Linked DNA regions of Homo sapiens: all the other regions are linked to region 2. The links are contacts of gene promoters, found by promoter capture Hi-C in blood cells and fetal thymus (Javierre and others, 2016). All regions are on one chromosome and are shown on one strand. The core of a region is centred on a gene start or on the middle of the fragment in contact, and the rest is flanking DNA. Distances in the headings are between cores, read along the strand shown.

Region 1 (3,624 bases), core at 748-3,247, 6.3 Mb before region 2:
TAGCTGATACTCTGGACTCAGTCACCAATATGCTTGCTGATGGTCTCCAGATCTTCTGCATTTGCCCCAAGTGTTATGCTAATGTACAGTATAGGCATTTGTTTGAATTAGGATAATAAAACTGGCCAAGGATAAAGGCACTAAAGAAACTGCATTATTTAGATGTCAAAATTACCTTATGGTGATGAACACATCCCTTAAGTCCCTTTTATCCTCAAGTTTTGCTATCCACTTGATTTCTAAATGTGACATACTATCTATCCATTTTTACCTGGAGTGAAAATAATGATACTGTTATGTTTACTTATAAAGGTATAGAGCACAGTAAAAAGAGCCAAAATTTAGAGTCAGGTAGACTGGATTCAAATTTTAATTGTGCCATTTAATTGTATAATTTATGGAAAATCACAACCTCTTTGGGTCTCAGTATAAAATGTTTTGCAAAATAGAAATAATACAATTTTTGTGATTTTCTTTTTTTATTAAACATTAAATAAAATAATAAATGTAAAGTGCCTGGCAGACAGTATCTACTTGGGGTAAGTATTAATGATTGGCTACATTCAAGAGCAATTCAAAGAGAGAAATCACTGCCTCTAAAAACTAGTTGCTGTACAGATATAATACATAATATCCCTGAAGTAATTTATAATACTTTCAACTGGAGAAATAAAGAAAAAATACAAGATTCAACAAAATGTCAAGATTGGGATTAATGGGGCGATTATAAGTTTGTTGAATTATTAACCAACAAGGCCAGAAAATCAATGTGCTGTCCTAAATATGGTTTGTTGCATTACTCTCAAAAGGTTAAGAAGACACTGGCCTGGTGTTAACAGGGGCCTTGAATTGAACATATTGCATTTTTCTTTATCGGTATGCTCCGATAAAGAAAATGTTTTTATGGGTATGAGGAGCATACCCATAAAAAAAATGCAATAGTACCTACAACTCTTTCGGGAACTGACTGTTTTGAAAAAATAACAGTCAGCTGCCTTTTACGGGGGTTGGTGGGGAGGTAATTATCTAAATATAAGGTGGCAAGTGAAAACTAGTTACCTAAGAAATTGCATTACTTAAGAGAAGTCGCCAAGGTTCACTACATCACATCTTTCAAATCTTAAATGAGCACCTTTCCTCACATTATCCCTTTGTCGGAAGCAATTTCTCTTTACAACTATTCTGGCTACCTCAGACCTCCATCCAAAATTCTCCTGAATCCTTCATTATCGACAAAGCCTGGAGCAGAACGCAAGCATTCCTTTCTGAAAGCACACATACTTACTGATCACTGCTTTCCAAAAATGCATCTAATGCCCAAGCATGAAATTACAAGCTTGTTCTCTTATGTCTCAGCCATGAAAACAAAGACCGTTCTTCTCATCCAATTCAAATGGCGGGAGGAACCTTCAATTAATTCTAAATCAGGAAGGAACCTCCCCATCTCACTTCCTAAATGTTTGTAAAAGATGTCTTCTTCAGCCAACCTCCTGCCTTCCAGGCACGGCACCCCAGAACTACGGAAACAGTACTCAGGAATCAAGAGTGGCCAAACGCTGCCAATGGGAGATAGGAAACTCGTTGATCATTGGTAGAGAAACTCGGCACAACGCCGAGTCACGGTACACGGTGTCTTCGGCCTCGCCCAGGGACACTTGGTGACCCGAGGTCGAGTTCCAAGTCGGAGACAGATTTTGCGAGTGGATAAGACGGTAAGCCGGGATCCCAGGGCCTTCTCCAGCTGCACTGGGTGTCAAGCGCCACGGGGTTTGATGGGGACTCCTTCTGGTTCCACCCTCGCCCACTCACTTCTCGGGCTGGCCATAATGCTGCACAGAGCCCCGGCCAGCCATTAATATCAGGCGCAGGAGAAAACCCAGTAAAATCACTTACCAGTCTTCCACCTCCGGTGCTGATCTAGCAAGAGCCTGACCCGCTGGCCAGACTCAAGCTCTGCACCAGGTATTACCACCCTGGCGACGGCTCCGGAGCGTCACTGACAACCACCCGGAAATGGTACTATCGCTTCCGGGGCTGCCTAGCGCGCGGCGGGAAATTGTTTCCCAGAGCCCGGATTCGTGAAGCAGTTGAGTGCTGCAGCGGCAGTCGTCGCCCCTGCCGCCGCTGCCACCGAAGGAAGCATCCCAGACACCGGGAAGGTAAAGGGGCTCAGCTAGGAAGACACAGTGTATTCTGTCTCTGTGGGGATGTTTCTTCGCCGGGCGGTACCTCCGAAGTTTCTGCCTCCCGGCTGTGAGGCTAGGAAGGAAGCGGCTGGGGTGAGCGGCAGCGGTGTCTGGCTCTCGCGCTTTCTCCAGCTGCAGTTCGTTCCAGCTCTCCCGACTTCGCGCTCGGCGCCGGAGTTGGTGGGCTGCAGCTGCAGACCCCGCGACGCTTCGCCCGTGCCGCTGCGGGGACTGCCACCGAGCGCCCCTCTGCAGTACTGGGCTGAGCCACTTCCCCCGCTTCTGCTTGCGCAGCTCTGCCGCTCGGCCCGCCGCCTGGAAGGCGCTAGGCCCCCCGCGTCTCTCGTTTCCATAGAACCCATGGGGACGCCTCATCCTGATACCAGAATTTTGGCTGCTTTCCATAACTTAGCGTCTGCGAAGGTGGCTGGGATACCCCAGGCCCACTTTCCTGTGACGAAGAAAATTGTGTCATTCTTTCCTCTCTAGTAGAATTTTTTTTTTTTAAACTGCTAAAACGGCAGTGATCCTATCTCTGACTGCTATAGGCCTTTAAACACAAACATACACACATACACTTTTCGCTGAAGGGAGGGTCTGTGTTCCTGGGGTTTATATTTCAGCTGCCTGAAGGCTGGAAACAAGACTGAGTGGCTATTTTAAGATTTCTTCCACTTCCAAAGCCTCAGATTAAATATTGACAAAAAAAAAATTGGTCCGTCTCGGGTACTTCATATCATTATTTGACTCAGGAGTTAGATGGAGCTTGATTTTGGAGGCGCCAGCCTCTTTTTTGACGAATGACTTTATTAAAAAATTTTGTTGTTGTTGTTGAAATATTGGGAATGAACATTTGAACTGAATTTACAATGTATGTGTGACAGACAATGCACCTTGTGGACTTTTTGGTTTATGTTATTCCGTTGTGCCTCAATTCTTGGAAATACCTGTGGATGTGCAAGATGTTCTCATTATTGGAAAGTTTGATTACGTATATTGCAGGTGTTCAATACCTAAGTTGCTAGTATGAGGTGAATTTATATTAAAGAGTATATTTCTTTATTTTCTTTTCTTACCTTTCCTTCCTTCCTTTGCTTTCTTTCTTTCTTTGACAGAGCCTTGCTCTGTTGCCCAGGCTGGAGTGCAGTGCCTATCGGCTCACTGCAACCTCCGGCTCCCAGGTTCAAGCAATTCTCCTATCTCAGCCTCCCGAGTAGCTGGGATTACAGGTGCGCGACACCACGCCCGACTAATGTTTTGTATTTTTAATAGAGACAGGGTTTCACCATGCTGTCCAGGCTGGTCTCGAACTCCTGATCTCAAGTGTTCCGCTCGCCTCGGCCTCCCAAAGTGCTGGGATTACAGGCGTGAGCCACCGGGTAACTCTTGAGTATTCTTAATTTAAAGGAACTAGGATGTTCAAATACTTGAATGTTTA
Region 2 (4,003 bases), core at 465-2,964:
CTCATACCGGTCTTTTTTACCCCCTCAGAATAGACCATGTATAGATTCGTTGATGCATGACGACCATTCCAGCCCATTCCTTGCTAGCTTTTTCATTCTCTTCCAGTCCGCTTTGACTGTGCTACTGTTTTCCTGGTTTTCTACAGAATAGCAAGTCCTTCTGTAAGGATCAACCTGCATCTTGCTCGCTTAAATAAATGCTTATTACCTAGGGAGCAGGAATATTAAGAAATGGAGTGCAGGAAGTTTAAGAGCATGTGTGTGTGTTAGCAGTCCCATCTCTCTCTCTCTCACACACACATACACACACACGCAAGGGCTGTTTTCTTTGTTTTAATCAATGTCAGAGAAAAATATAAACTGGGCAGGCATCTCTGCTGGTGTGTAGTTTCTGATAGAGGACGCCTCCAAACCGGAACAGGGAGGATTTCCGAAACAGGACTTTGAATAGAGTTGACAATCAGGTTCACATCCTCAGAAAAAGCCTTCCAAGCTATGTCAGCAACACAAAGTTGCACCACCTCCTGGGTAAACTTCAAAGACACAGAGGCCAGCGGGTGGAAGGAAGTGTGATATTTAGAGAACTTAGTGGGGCGGGGGAGAGTCTGAACTCATCTAGACAAACTAAAAAAAATAGCAGAAATATAGTCTGTGTGAAGCTACAGTACCCAGTTTCTTTCTAAAACTGTAACCATGACGCCCATGCGTTTTAGCCGTAGAAGAACAAATAAGGAAGTATCCTTAGTGGTACTGGAGTTTCTAATTCAAATTATAACACATTAATCTATCCAACGTCAAATAGAAAAAAAAAAAGTAGAGAAACAGAGTATACCTATTTCCTGCTTTCTAAGCTTTAACTTCAGCCCTTCGAGAAACCATCTATCTCCAGTATCTCCTTAGGTGATAGGACATTGAAAACAGGCAACCGTTTGGTGAATAAAGACATTTCTCTTGAGTTCTGCCCACAGATTAAAAGGACAAGGACACACGTTCTTTGTTGACACTTCTGCAGTGACTTCTCCTTTGGCGAGAGAGCACCCAGGGCCAACACAACTGTCACCACAACCACACAGAGCAAGTTGAACTCATACTGGGAACAGCTTAGAGAAGCACGCACATCTCAACAACAGCCTTTGTTATTTAATTCATGACACTAACCACGCGCAAGCTCAAACAAACACACATGCTATCCTAACCATCACTCTACCCTCTATATTCACATTTCATTTATGGCTTGACTTTTTGTCATATCCTGAAATGAAGCTTTGCATTTACCCGATGAGTTGCGTCTCCTGGTGCTCCTCAGTTCTTGCTATTTCTTTTGTCTTATAAAAGATCAGGAGCAGACTTATTGTGCAGATCGTCCACCTCTTCCTAATGGAGCGCATCTTGGGTGCCCGAGAAAGTCCTGGTTGCCCCAGCTCCCGCACCTTCTCTTGATATAAAGGCTCCGTTTTGGGGAGATAGTCGCGGGGGTGAAATCTGTAAAATGCGAGGAGAGCTTGGAGCCGGGATCCCGGGATCAGATCACTGGGGTCTTCTGTGGCCGAGCTCCCTCTGGTCCTCGAACGCTGCCCAGCGACCTCTCGCCCTGTTTGCGCCAGCTCTGCCAGGGTCGCTCCGCGCCGCCTCCCTGGGGCTCAGGTTTCTTTTCAGATGAGACACCTTGTGCATTGGAGGTGGCGGCAGCTTCTGCAGCTGGGTTCGGGGGCGTCACTGGCCCTTCCCTCTTGCTAGGAGATAAACGCTGCGCAAAGCCAATCACCAGGCTGAGGGGGCGGAGGCTGCTTGGAGAGTAACGTCCCCGGCTCTGCCTGCTCTGTGCCGGGAGAGGAAGCTCACAGTGCTACGCGCCTGCGAGCTCGCGCACATACACATATACATACATACACACATACATACATATGCACACACACGTACACGCAGAATCACACACACTCTCCTGGGACATCAAAGCATCAGCTCTCTGGACCTGGGAGCTCCAAGATAGTCTATCCGCATCTAGGTGAGAGGGCACCTCGCCTGGGGACAGATTACAAAAGCGTCCCGCCAGAGGAATGCTTCAGGTAGAGCTAGGGGTGGATTGCAAGAAGAGTACCTTCTTTCAATCGCTTTTGCTAAACACACACCCTCACACGCAAAAACACGCCCTCCAAGGTGGAGTGAAACGGGGTGCGGGGGTGGGGACGGCGGTGGAAGGAAGAAGACTTTTATTACTCAATCTGGAAAGTGCAAATACACACATGAACCTGTTAGCCGATGGGCCCACTCTGCATGGGTGGTGGACGACGACCCTGGCTCAGGATTCTGCAGGAAACAAGTGATGATAGAGGTGTCATTAGGAACTTTATGGATATTTATGCGCCTCCCTTTCATTGCCATTTGGAAACTCCTCACGCAGAAGTCAAGGAAACTCCAATCCCACTTAAACTTCATTGCGGAGAAACAGAGTTCTGAAAAAAAAGCAGCTACCATGGACCTCTCTTTTAAACGCAAGTACACCCACACACATTCGGATACCAAGGAAGGAAGGAAAGAAAGAAAGGAAAGAAAAGGGAGGGGAGGAAGGAAGAGCAAAGTCCTCTCTAAAAGTCTCAATTATATATATAGCCTCTGATTGTCACCTCTCCTCCGTCCCACCATTTTTCGTACTTGTATTGGGTGGCAGGGACACTTTTCAAGAGTTCTGTGTTCGATTGTTCACTCTGAGTACCTCTCCACCATCCTCCAGTCGTTGCCCTCATTGGGAGAGATGCTTGCTACTCTGCTAGTACCACGCCTTGGTTCCGGTCTTTACTGTTGGCTGGTAGGTCGGGAGGCACCTCTAGCATGAGACAGTGTCTGGAAGCCAGGATTTCCCTCATCTATATGCGCCGGTCCCCAGCTCCCTGGTCGCCAGGGTTTCTCTCCAGTTGAATTCCGTGTTCCTTCAGGTTGAACAGTAGCTTCAGCGGTTTTTCACGCTCAGAAATGATGAGGCCCAATTCCAATCTTCCCTCCCGCCGGAAGTAAGAAGGGGAATTCTGAGTTGCTTGTCGCCTGACAGCTTAAAATAGCAACGAAAACAGCCAGCATCTTTGCTTAAAAACCCAAGGTTCCCGCCAGTGTTTACCATACTTCCTCTAGAGTTTAAGAAGTTAAGAACTTCCGAGATCTTGAATTTCCTCTTTGCAGCACAGCGAACGGGGTCGGGTATAAAAATGCTCCAAGGAGCAAGTAATTACGAACGTTTATTGACACTACAAGTGGCCCACAGGGAGCCTTTCGAGTTTATTGATGTCTAGGCAAATCCAGCCTGCATTAATGCATTTCTGTTAGATTGACTTCTGTTAGACTCACTTTTCTTCTGGCAAAAACTGCCAGAATAAAACAGCTTCTTATTTAAGTTAAAAGGGATCCGGGGCTGAGGGCAGGGGTCGGGTGGGAGAGGGATGCATGGTTAGGATGCTAAATTCTCAAGGATAAACTTTGATTTTTAAACAGTAGACAACTATATTTTAGATTATAGGTAAAACATCACTCTCTGTCAGGGATAGAGTAATATGCATCGTTTCATTAAACTCATTATTTCTTAAGCAATGGTTATGGGGCAGGCAATGTGTGCGGAGATGGGAACACAAAGATGAATAAAACTTAGCATCTAGTCAGACACAAATCCTACTCACTCAAAGGGGGCATCTTTTAAAAATAATAATTTACAGTATGGCAACATGAATCAGAAACATCATTTAAAATATATATGGTATCTGAGTAAGCTCCTGGGTTGAAGCAGATGGGGTGTTTAAGCCTTTTGAAGCCCGGAAGATGAGTTTCCGGGTGAAGGGGACACACAGACTCCTGTTTTCAAAGCTGACAAGGAAGTAAGCCAAGCAGAGGGAGGATAGAACATTGCAGGTGGAAAAAGGAGTATGCGCAACTCCAGAGAGTAATAAAACTCTGGTGCTTTGGGGCAACTTTGAAGTGGCTCAGTACTGTTAGAAGGGAAAGTGGTAAGGGAGAGTGC
Region 3 (3,728 bases), core at 643-3,142, 5.1 Mb before region 2:
TCCCAGGTGTGGTGGCTCACCCGTTTAATCCCAGCACTTTGGGAGGCCGAGGTAGGTGGATCGCCTGAGGTCAGGAGTTCGACACCAGCCTGGCCAACATGGTGAAACCCCGTCTCTACTAAAAATACAAAAATTAGCTGGGCATGGTGGTGGGCGCCTGTAATCCCAGCTACTTGGGAGGTTGAGGAGAACCCAGGAGGCAGAGGTTGCAGTGAGCCAAGATTGCACCATTGCACTCCAGCCTGGGTGACAAGAATGAAACTGTCTCAAAACAAACGAACAAACAAAACTAATGCTTGGCTCCCACCTCTGACATTGTGATTTAGTTATTGAGGGGCATAATTTGGGCATAAGGATTGTTTTAAAAGCTCTCTAGGTGATCCTAATGTGCAGCAAAGTTTGGGAACCAATGGCTAAAAGGTCCTCAGGGTGGCAGCCACAGTGGGGCCCGTAGTAGTGTTTGCACTGCCCTTTACACCTCTCAGGGCCTGGGCATCCTATGCAGCTGGTGGTCCCACTAGGCAGCAAGAGCTTCTCTCGTCATTGTGTATACTCCAGGACCTCAGCACACAGCAGTAGGATAACACACTAAGCCCCCTTTCTGCACCAAAATGCTGACTTCTTATTAGAGAGAAGGGGAGAGAAACAACCTCCAATGCTTTATACTCAGAACCCAGAGACAACCTTGTAAGTCAAACTAAAACTGAAATAGGATATGTGCTTGGCCTAACACTGTGCTGTAGAATTCGTGCATCGTAAAAGAGAACTTAGCTGAGCTGGTGGGACATTTCTCATCCCACCTCACAGCAGAACTGATACAGGTGATGTGGCTGGCATCCCTCCTGAAGCCCAGGACGCAAAGCCAAGGATGCTGAAGAGAGGGAAGTCTTTCGGATGGAGGAGAGCAATTTTTAGAGGGTCCCACAGTCTATTCGTAGCAAATGGGACTCTGAGGTCACCTAATCTGGTCTTGCAGCTGGGATCTTTGAGGACTACTGGGGTGGTGACTTGCCCAGGATCACACAGCCAGCCATTATAAGAGCCAGGCCAGAACTCCAGGCTATGATTCCCTACAATGTGGGGCCTGGAAACATCCATAATTAATTTAGAACAAGGGGCAGATAACGGTACATTAGATTTTTCCAGTGGGAGGAATTAGATAAGGAAGAATGAGCAAATTAGAAAAAGAAAGCCTAGAGAAAAGAATGAAGAACATGAATCTCATGTTAAATAACAAACACATCACACCCGGCCCTCCACCCCAGCTTCCACCTCCAGCCCTGCCAACTGAAAACTGTCATTTCCTGGCAGTGCTTAAAACAAAGACTCTAGATAATTCCCCAGGGACTCACCGGCAAGCTGCTGGTCCCACTTACCCTGCCGCACAGCAGACATCAGCTGTACTCCCTCTTCTGCCCCGTGAAGACCTTTGGCTGCAGTGCCGCCGCTCATTCAAGTGACCGAGATCCTCTCTAAGGCGCCCTCCCCCACACCCCCCGCCCCGCACAGCCCTCTGGACGCCTTGAAGTACGGAGCCGCAGCCTTATCCTAAAGAAAGGCACAGCTCTGACAAGAAAAGGCAATCCGGGAGCCTTTCCCTAGCCGTTTAAAATGAAACTCACCGTTCTTGCTCCCGTGAGCTGTTGCAAATAATCTTGAATCTCGTTAGTGTGGTTGGTGGCTGTGATATCGACAAATTCCAGAAGCCCTTGTTTGATGGGCAATTGACTGAGGATCTCTTGGGCCCTCCTGCAGTACGGGCAGGTGGGCTTGATGAACACAACCACCTTCCCAGGCTGGATTTTGCAGTTCACAAACTCTTGAGCCATGCCGATGGGCTGCGGTCTCCCCGGGAAGAATCCTCAGTTGCAGGTATTGCTTGGGGTATTGAGCCCCGACCCAGCCAGTTGGCTCCTATTTAATAAGGAACCTCCCTGGAGGCGGAGTTTGCCTGGTAGCTTGCTCGAGTTTTAAAGGGACAGCTTCGAAGACATTTCCATCTGGTATACTTCACTAGTTAGCAATGCCCAGGAATGCAATACTTGCTATTTAATCATTGGTAGCTATGAAAGACACTCTGGGTATCTTTGTTGTCCTTGGACATTTGGGGAGTGCCTGCCCATTGGCAATGATCAGAGTTTAGTCACCTCTGGGGAAGCATAAAGTGCTTACTCACAAAGGGGCTGAGGAGGCAGTGACTTCTTAGAGCAAATTCTTGTTTTCCCTCTAGGAGATACAGTTGTATTTTAAAATGCAAACAGAATCACTTAAGAAACAGAACACTTGGAAATCTCTTTAGAAGAAGTGAAATTGAAACTGTGACTTTGCACTCCTCATGAAGGTTGCTCTCACAGCATTTTGCTTGGACTGTATGGTGGGTGTTTGTTGTTGTGATCTTTTTAATGGAATTCATTCTCAGTATTTAAAAATCTGGAGGTCTCACAAAACAATTCGGACTTAAAACTTCTCTCTGAAAAGTCAGGTCGGGCAATACAGAGCTTGCACCTTTTAGTGGAAGCTGCTGGGGCTGACAGCTGTTGCCCCCTTTGTATAGGGCAAGTAGTGGCTTTGGTTTGCCACAGGTCCCAACGACAGGCCCATGCCTGAGACACCGGCTTCACCCCATAACCATTTGAGTTGGTAACCCTTGAACAGCAGTTTAATATGGAGGCAAATTCCAACACAATCCTTGATACAAAACTACAGATGAAATGAGAATCTTTTTTTCTGGTTGAGCCTATGTTTGTGACCCTCTGCTTTTAACTGTTTGTGAGGGGAAGTAGTGTTGTAACTCAGACACCACATTCACTTCAAGTGTTATAAGACACGGGTTGTAACAGTAGGAAATCTTTCGCTCTTCCCCAGGGTGCCCATTCTCCTTATCCCGCAAAGCAAAGTCCTCTACTCCTGGGTCTAGTTCCGGCCCCCTCTAGTGTATGGTAGCTTAAATAAACAAATCAAGGAAAAACTATGTCCTTTAAACGTGAATCATCCTTTCCCCAGGAAGTTTTATGGTGAAACCAGAGTATCTTCAAAGAGGCGGGGCCAAGGCCAGAGCTGGACACCACGACTGCCACGTAAGAGGAATCCCAAGCATACTGCGATCAAGGGAAGGGAAGAAAATCCACTCCCAGAAGCAGCTTTTTACTGTGACTCTCATCGTTACTAGAATTAAAATGGCAAAATGAGAAAGCCAGATTCTGAGTCACGGAGGGGGAGCTAAGTGACAGCTCTGTCCAGAGAAAAGGATGTGGCAGGGCTGGGAGGCCCCTCACGTGGTCAGGGCTCCGGACTTCCCACTTCCCACTTCCCTCCAAAGTAGGCTCTGCCACAGAGTCTGAGCCTCCTCTCTTTTTTCATTCTTTTACCTCAGAACCCTGTGGCCAGGCTCCTTCCAGAGGCCCCTGCCAGGAGGTCCAGGGTCTGTTTCAGGGCCCTCAGGCTGTTGCCTTAAGTTCCCTCAGCCTGAGGTTTATCCACACGACTTGCACCTGCTACTCACTCAGAGCCTTTCTCTTCTCCGGTCTGTTGTTGGCTCCTCCCTTCCTGGTGCCTCAGCCTGCCACTGTGTTCAAGTTAAAAGCCACCACCACCACCACCACTCCCCATTTCCTGCTTTCCTGCCTCTGCCCTTTCATGAAATTTACTGTCTGTACCTTTCTCACCTCCATTCTCTCATTTTGTTGTTATCTGACCTTGTCAACCATTCTGCTGAATTGTTGGCAGAC

Evidence for each region. The method cuts DNA at HindIII sites, captures the fragments that hold promoters and counts their contacts. A CHiCAGO score of 5 or more calls a contact.
Region 1: a contact is called between the fragment with the promoter of KIAA0825 here and the fragment with the promoter of ST8SIA4 in region 2, in 1 of 17 cell types (naive CD8 T cells). The highest score is 7.9, in naive CD8 T cells.
Region 3: a contact is called between the fragment with the promoter of GLRX here and the fragment with the promoter of ST8SIA4 in region 2, in 3 of 17 cell types (non-activated CD4 T cells, naive CD8 T cells and total B cells). The highest score is 9.5, in non-activated CD4 T cells.

Annotation. Positions count from the first base shown.
Region 1 is chr5:94,616,607-94,620,230 of GRCh38, forward strand. It overlaps KIAA0825, which reads right to left and starts at 1,998. Exons shown (of 21, transcript NM_001145678.3): 1 at 1,894-1,998. SLF1 (SMC5/6 complex localization factor 1) reads left to right here and starts at 2,063. Exons shown (of 21, transcript NM_032290.4): 1 at 2,063-2,159. RefSeq lists enhancers at 1,012-1,876, 1,615-1,794, 2,105-2,284, 2,675-2,784. The HindIII fragment of the contact is 3,766 bases long and covers 1,335-3,624 here.
Region 2 is chr5:100,901,568-100,905,570 of GRCh38, forward strand. It overlaps ST8SIA4 (ST8 alpha-N-acetyl-neuraminide alpha-2,8-sialyltransferase 4), which reads right to left and starts at 1,715. Exons shown (of 5, transcript NM_005668.6): 1 at 1,276-1,715. The coding sequence starts at 1,388. It overlaps LOC107986437 (a long non-coding RNA gene), which reads left to right and starts at 1,841. Exons shown (of 2, transcript XR_001742825.3): 1 at 1,841-4,003. RefSeq lists enhancers at 803-1,372, 1,858-2,097, 2,878-3,117. The HindIII fragment of the contact is 2,860 bases long and covers 1,262-4,003 here.
Region 3 is chr5:95,820,834-95,824,561 of GRCh38, forward strand. GLRX (glutaredoxin) reads right to left here and starts at 1,893. Exons shown (of 3, transcript NM_001118890.2): 1 at 1,623-1,893. The coding sequence starts at 1,829. RefSeq lists enhancers at 265-404, 2,321-2,410, 2,641-3,141. The HindIII fragment of the contact is 7,969 bases long and covers 1-3,728 here.